2 separate regions of the Homo sapiens genome follow, and region 2 is linked to region 1. The links are contacts of gene promoters, found by promoter capture Hi-C in human tissues and cell types (Jung and others, 2019). All regions are on one chromosome and are shown on one strand. Each heading gives the region's core, a stretch centred on a gene start or on the middle of the fragment in contact. The rest is flanking DNA. Distances are from core to core; before and after follow the strand shown.

Region 1 (3,753 bases), core at 664-3,163:
TTTTAACGGAGAAGATACGACAAGTTCTAATAAAGGAAACATTCTATTTAGCTATACCGGTTTTCATGTTAGAGATAAAGATAAAGTCTGCACCTTGAGTTTATCATGGTTCCTTTTGAATCATCATAAAACATACATAATGATCAACTTAAAAGAATTTTAGCCCCATATATTAAAAATCAGTCTAATTAATGAAATTGTAAATTGAGGTCATTTTTCTTTTCAGCTTGTGTTTTCAGCAGCCATTTTGCCAAGACAGAACAAACAGGAAATGTGGGAGAACTATTCTTCCAGAACTTCTTAAACTCTCTAAGCACTCTAAACTTTAAAGAAGCTGAGCAAAGTATTCTACTTTTAATGTGAATATTGAAAAGTACTTGCTTTCTTTTCTTGGTTATTGTCTGAGCCAGGAAGGGGGCCATCAGGTTCAACTGGCTGTTCCTCTGCAGTCGCAGTTGGAGAGGCACTTTTGTTTACATTTGTATCTAGGTAACCAGAATGCTGAATCAGGTCAGGAACTATGACAAGTGAATTTTTGCAGTGCTGCTAATTTTTTTTTAATTGAGGGCAGTTTCTGTACATATAGCTTGGCTTAAAGGGAGGCTTTCAATTTGCTTTACATTTCCCCTCTCCTCACTTATCCCAATTCTCCCCCATCCCCCCATAACATCTATAGTTAGCTAGAAGAGCATTTCTTTACAGATACTTCTATAAGACCTTTAGAAACTTTTTTAGGATCAGACAGCTCTAAAATAATCAGGAATGTATTTTTTTTAAATTATACTTTAAGTCCTGGGATACACGTGCAGAACATGCAGGTTTGTTACGTAGGTATACACGTGCCATGGTGGTTTGCTGCACCCATCAGCCCATCATCTACATTAGGTATTTCTCCTAATACTATTCCTCCTCTAGCCCCCAACCCCCAACAGGCCCCAGTGTGTGATGTTCCCCTCCCTGTGTCCATGTGTTCTCATTGTTCAACTCCCACTTGTGAGTGAGAACATGTGGTGTTTGGTTTTCCGTTCCTGTGTTAGTTTGCTGAGAATGATGGTTTCCAGCTTCATCCATGTCCCTGCAAAGGGACATGAACTCATCCTTTTTTATGGCTGCATAGTATTCCATGGTGTATATGTGCGGCATTTTCTTTATCCAGTCTATCATTGATGGGCATTTGGGTTGGTTCCAAGTCTTTGCTATTGTGAACAGTGCTGCAATAAACATACGTGTGCATGTGTCTTTATAGTAGAATGATTTATAGTCCTTTGGGTATATACCCATTAATGGGATTGCTGGATCAAATGGTATTTCTAGTTCTAGATCCTTGAGGAATCACCTCACTGTCTTCCACATGGTTGAACTAATTTACACTCCCACCAACAGTATAAAAGCGTTCCTATTTCTCCACATCCTCCCCAGCATCTGTTGTTTCCTGACTTTTTAATGGTTACTATTCTAACTGGCATGAGATGGTATCTCATTGTAGTTTTGATTTGCATTTCTGTAATGACAAGTGATGATGAGCTTTTTCTCGTATGTTTTGGCTGCATAAATGTCTTCTTTTGAGAAGTGTCTGTTCACATCCTTTGCCCACTTTTTGATGGGGTTTTTTTTTCTTGTACATTTGTTTAAGTTATTACTCTGTTGTGCCCAAGCCTTCTGAGGGTCTTCATTGGGATTCATTATTTTGTTTATATGTAATAAGAAACAGAAGAAAGATAGTGAAGTAGGAGAAATTTAGAGACCTCGAATAGTCCATAAGTACCTGAACTCATGATGCTTGCTTTTCCAGCTTTATTTTTTGTAGATTTGATATTTTTGAAAAACAATCTCTGTGATTTTTTTCTTTTTTCTGAGGAAGCCAATGTACCAAGGAATTGTAATTGCATCCTAACTAAGGTCTTCCTGTTTCTGGGGCCTCTTCCCAAGGGTGACTTAGTAGCATTGTGACTGCAGGAAGGATCTATGATGTCAGTGTGGCTGGCCCTCACAACTGAAGTCAGGAAATCCCTGGGATTTAGAAGCTTTGAATGTTTTCTGTAGTGCTCATCATCATACAAATCACTAAGCCTTTCACTTCTTTGTCTCATGGGGTGGGAAGTGGCCATTGTTATACTGATATTTCACACTCTTCTCCTGATTTCATCTTCACAGTTTGAAAAGTGACGAGTTATCATCAAGCTAGACAAAGAGGAAATGAAATGCTGCGGTATGCCCAAATCTTTCTCCAAGTATGTTAGGGAGGAAGCTAACTCTTCTAGGTTAGAAGGGGACTTCACAGATAGTGCAGCACTGATGAAAAGTGACATGGGTCAGAGTTTTACAGAAATGAAAATATTGAACTTTGCCTTTGTAGGGGAAATTTTGTTCAGTTATTTAGCCAAAAGGGGGTGGATTGTTTTAGCTGTAAAATGTTTGTCTGAGTTTTAAAATTAGAATTTGCATGTTTGTTAGTACTACTTGGCCTCCATATACAGAAATGATGCTTTGGCTAAGTTGTTGTCCAAATTATGGTATCAGATTTGCCTTGTTTAAAGGCACACAATGTTCAGGATGCTGAGTGACAAACTTTGATCCCACAGATAAAGGACACCTATGATTTGGGCTTCCATGCATATCCCCTAGTCCTAAGCTAAGCCCTTAAAACTCAAAGATGCAGTAGTTCATGGTTTGCAAGCAGTCCAAAAGGCTCATTATGCTACCCTAATCACCATTGTATCTAGTGCCAAGGGAGACTGACACACAGCAGTGACTAAGAGCAGGTGGCTACAGATTCTGAGAGAGTGGATTGGAACCCTGACTCCTCAACCTACCAGCTGTTTAGTTTGGACAAAATTACATCACCTCTTTAAGCCTCAACTTTCTCCTCTGTGAAATGAGCTAATAATATCGATCCCATAAGATGGTTGAGAGGATTAAATGTAATAATATACTTACAGCGCTCAGCTGAGGGCGGTGCCAGGAATCCACTAAAAGATAACTATTATTAGCGATTATTTCACAAGGTGCCAATTATCCAAGAAACAGTCACAAGCAGAGTCTGTGTGAGAAAGAAAAACTAGATTTAACCTTGCTTAACAACTTTTTAAGATTCTTTCTCTTCTTAAATTCAGCTTTTAATCCATGGTATTTGGTTAGAAAAATGGGCCCTACTAAAATGGACAATTTTGGTAGGTTTGTTCTCTAAACATAAATGGCTATTCAATTTTAACATAACAATGCACATAATATATATGTATATTATTAATGTCTGCTCTGGTTTGAATCTCTCCACCAAAACTCATGTTGAAATGTAATTGCCATTCTTTTTTTTTTTTTTTTGAGTTGTAGTCTTGCACTGTCACCCAGGCTGGAGTGCAATAGTGCGATCTTGGCTCACTGTAAGCTTGGCCTCCCAGATTCATGCCATTCTCCTGCCTCAGCCTCCCAAATAGCTGGGACTACAGGTGCCCACCACCACACTCGGCTAATTTTTTGTATTTTTAGTAGAGACAGGGTTTCATCGTGTTAGCCAGGATGGTCTCGATTTCCTGACCTCGTGATCTGCCCACCTCGGCCTCCCAAAGTGCTGGGATTACAGGCGTGAGCCACCGTGCCTGGCCTATTGCCATTCTAATAGTATTAGGAAGTGGAGGCTTTAAGAAGTGATTAGGTCATGAGGGCTCTCTCCTAATGAATGAATTAAAGCCCTTATTGTGGGAATGAGTTAGTTATCATAGGAGTGGGCTCCTGATAGAAAGGATGAGTTTGGCT
Region 2 (3,753 bases), core at 661-3,160, 34 kb after region 1:
GAAAAGTGTTCTGAGAGTTACTCGAGGATACCTTCAAGGATCTTTTTATTTTAAAATAAATGTATTTGAAAACATTATTCCTCTGAATGCACTAAGTAGGAACAAAGGAAGGAATTAATGAGAGGCTGGGGTCTGAGGGTGGAATAGGGAAGAGAAAGTTGTTGCAGTTGACTCCAGTCTACTGCACGTAACTGTCACATAATTTCTTTGACTAATTAATTAAACAAGAAAGTGAGATGGCTTTCTCAAAGGTGCATGTTTAACCTAAACACCAGGATGGTTTCAAGATGTCACAGTTACTTGATTGGCACCTGGGTAAGCCCTCATGCCATTTCCTCTTTCTTTTTACTTGACTTACAAAATCCGTGGCAGCCTAGAGGTGTGTGCATCAGAGTCAGCAAACTCACACAGGGGTGCTGACAAGGCAGCCTCCTCTGCCTATGGAACTAGTTCCCATTCCAGAAATAAATCAGGTATTGTCACCTCCTAGATTGTTGCACACACCACTCCCTTTTCCTGGAGTGCCTAAGACTAAGCAACTTCTTTTTCTTTATTTTGTTCTGAGAGCTCTTTGTAAATCATTTTATTGTAGTACTTACCACATCTTACTGCCATTGCTCAATGATGAACTGCAAATATCTTAAGTGCAGGGATGGTCTCTGTATCTCCAGAACCTAATAGAGTATGTAGGAAGCATTTGCTATTGAAAATAGGGCCATGGATATTCATTCACAGACACAATTTTATCTTTAATATAAGTAAAATGATCAATAAACAAGACCACAACTCAAGAGCGAGCAAAGTGTGAGAGATCAAATACCCTTGTAACTATCTTCCTGTTCAAATGAAGCATAACCATAAACTTCCTCTGGTCCCCAGGCACTCTCAGCTCTCAGCCTCTCACAGTCTCTCTCTGCTCCAGTATCTGCCAGTGCTTTTGTGGAAATTGCAGGAATCTGCCTTGGCTTTCTAATCTAACTTTTCCCCAGACATCTCCGAAGGGGATTCCCTTTTTTGCTTCTTTTCTTAGAGACAAAACAGAGCCCTGATATTTTAAATGAATGAAATGCAGTATAATGTAATTAATGCTTAGAAAGAAGCTTGGATGTATTTGATGGTATTTTCAATTGTATTCTTGCTTTTAAAAGAAGGAGGTATTTCTCTCCATTTATCTATCTAGCTATTTAAACTAGCTATCTATTATATATTCGTTTGTATGGATAGAACCGTGTCTAAAATGACATTTATCTCCTTTTAATCATGGATATTTTAGATGGTAGAATTCAAGTATTTATTTAGATGCTGTTCTTTATCCAGGTCAGCATTGGTACTTAATTAGTGAGCATGCATTATTTTTATAATTGCTATTCCAAAATAATTAAAGAACCTACTGCTTCTGTAAATATTTAGAAGACTCCATGCCTCATCTAATGTCAAACTATGGATTTATCTGCCCTGTTATTTAGAGGGCCCCAAACACAAAGATGCATAGTCTTGAATTACCAAACTTCAGAATGGAAAGATGTCTTGTATTTATTTATAGCAGTTTTGACTTTTGAAATGCTGCTGAGCTGAACTTGGGTGCCTTTTTAATCTGCAGTACACATGGGGAATGAATCTGACACTATTTACCAGGTAGATTAAAGAGAGGGATATGTCAGGCAGCCAAGGTGGCTTGTGTTTAGAATGAGTCAAAGCAATGGTGTTCATCAAGCTCTCTCCCCAAAAGGTATGTAGCTTCAGAGACTAAAACATAGTGTACAAGGTGGTCATGAAGTGATTGTTCTCCAGATGTGATATTATGGAGGGTTGTTGTCTTAAACGTAGTTGGTAAAGGATCTTTTTTATCTTGCAGACTTTATGGGGTTTTGGTGCTGCTATGAGCTAGCTATTAGTTCTTGCTGGGAACCGAAAGTTAAAATGGAAGTTTTGGCTGAATCCTTGGGTGATAAGTATCACATCAAAATATGAGCTGTGAGAGCATCCTATAGGAATTTCCAAGCAAATACCCCAAAAGTAGTTATATGATTCAGACACCTCTCTATTACCTCAAGGATAAAGAAGGTCAGTTGTTGGAGATCAGGGAGAATTTGTGAAAAGGATTTCATCGGACACCTAGTCCTCAAGGAGGAAAGGTTTATATGTGTGTGGGTACTTCCCTTGCAGGCCGAGTCAAGAGAGAGGGGCTTTGATGGGATCTGTTGGAGAATATGACATGTGTCCCCTTAAGTTAGGAGGACACACTGAACTGGTGTCTGACTCCTTCCTAGGAAATATTCAGGGTGAGAGATGGGCTGAGGACCTGCTGTGGTCTCACTGAGCCTGTAGGATGGAGTAAAAGACATACATTAGAATGACAGGGAATGAAGGTGGTCTGGGGACAGAGCTCTTCGTCTCCCTTTGGGATAGTGGCAGAATGCACCTACCGCAGAAAGTGAAGTCTCAGAGAAAATAACCCTTTGACTTAGTTATGGCCCAGGGACAATAGCTACCCTTGTACTGAGATTAAATCTATGCAATGGCTTGCTCCAAAAGGATGACAGGTCAAAGGCGGGATAAGAAAACATGTCAGTGGAGTCACTAGTTTATAAGCCATGTTAAGATATACTTGGGATAGAAACCATAAAAACCCTAGAAGAAATCCTAGGCAATACCATTCAGGACATAGGCATGGGCAAGGACTTCATGAGTAAAACACCAAAAGCAATGGCAAGAAAAGCCGAAATTGACAAATGGGATCTAATTAAATTAAAGAGCTTCTGCACAGCAAAAGAAACTACCCTCAGAGTGAACAAGGCAACCTACAGAATGGGAGAAAATTTTTACAATCTACCCATCTGACAAAGGGCTAATATCCAGAATCTACAAAGAACTTAAACAAATTTACAAGAAAAAATCAAACAACCCCATCAAAAAGTAGGCGAAGGATATGAACAGACACTTTTTGAAAAAAGACATTTATGCAGCCAACAGACACATGAAAAAATGCTCATCATCACTGGCCATCAGACAAATGCAAATCAAAACCACAATGAGATACCATCTCAAACCAGTTAGAATGGCAATCATTAAAAAGTCAGGAAACAACAGGAGGATGTGGAGAAATAAGAACACTTTTACACTGTTGGTGGGACTGTAAACTAGTTCAACCATTGTGGAAGACACTATGGCGATTCCTCAAGGATCTAGAACTAGAAATACCATTTAACCCAGCCATCCCATTACTGGGTATATACCCAAAGGATTGCACATCATGATGCTATAAAGACATATGCACACGTATGTTTATTGAGGCACTATTCACAATAGCAAAGACTTGGAACCAACCCAAATGTCCATCAATGATAGACTGGATTAAGAAAATGTGGCACATATACACCATGGAATAGTATGCAGCCATAAAAAAGGATGAGTTCATGTCCTTTGTAGGGACATGGATGAAGCTGGAAACCATCATTCTCAGCAAACTATTGCAAGGACAAAAACCAAACACCACATGTTCTCACTCATAGGTGGGAATTGAACAATGAGAACACTGACACAGGATGGGGAACATCACACACCGGGGACTGTTGTGGGGTGGGGGAAGGGGAGAGGGATAGCATTAGGAGATACCTAACGTAAATGACCAGTTAATGGGTGCGGCACACCAACATGGCACATGTATACGCATGTAACAAACCTACACGTTGTGCACACGTACCCTAGAACTTAAAAGTATAATAAAAATAAATAAAAAGAAAATACTATGTT

What was found. The method cuts DNA at HindIII sites, captures the fragments that hold promoters and counts their contacts. A contact is called where the count stands out against the background at its distance.
Region 2: a fragment that was not itself captured here is called in contact with the fragment with the promoter of FAM81B in region 1 in 1 of the 25 tissues and cell types used here (pancreas).

What each region holds. Positions count from the first base shown.
Region 1 is chr5:95,389,526-95,393,278 of GRCh38, reverse strand. It overlaps FAM81B (family with sequence similarity 81 member B), which reads right to left and starts at 1,913. Exons shown (of 10, transcript NM_152548.3): 1 at 1,766-1,913; 2 at 382-485. The coding sequence starts at 1,889. It overlaps LOC105379089 (a long non-coding RNA gene), which reads left to right and starts at 2,107. Exons shown (of 3, transcript XR_948586.1): 1 at 2,107-2,209. RefSeq lists an enhancer at 1-753. The HindIII fragment of the contact is 13,198 bases long and covers 1-2,705 here.
Region 2 is chr5:95,355,624-95,359,376 of GRCh38, reverse strand. No RefSeq gene overlaps it. Among named protein-coding and RNA genes, the nearest start is that of FAM81B, 34 kb to the left of the region's middle. The HindIII fragment of the contact is 3,102 bases long and covers 360-3,461 here.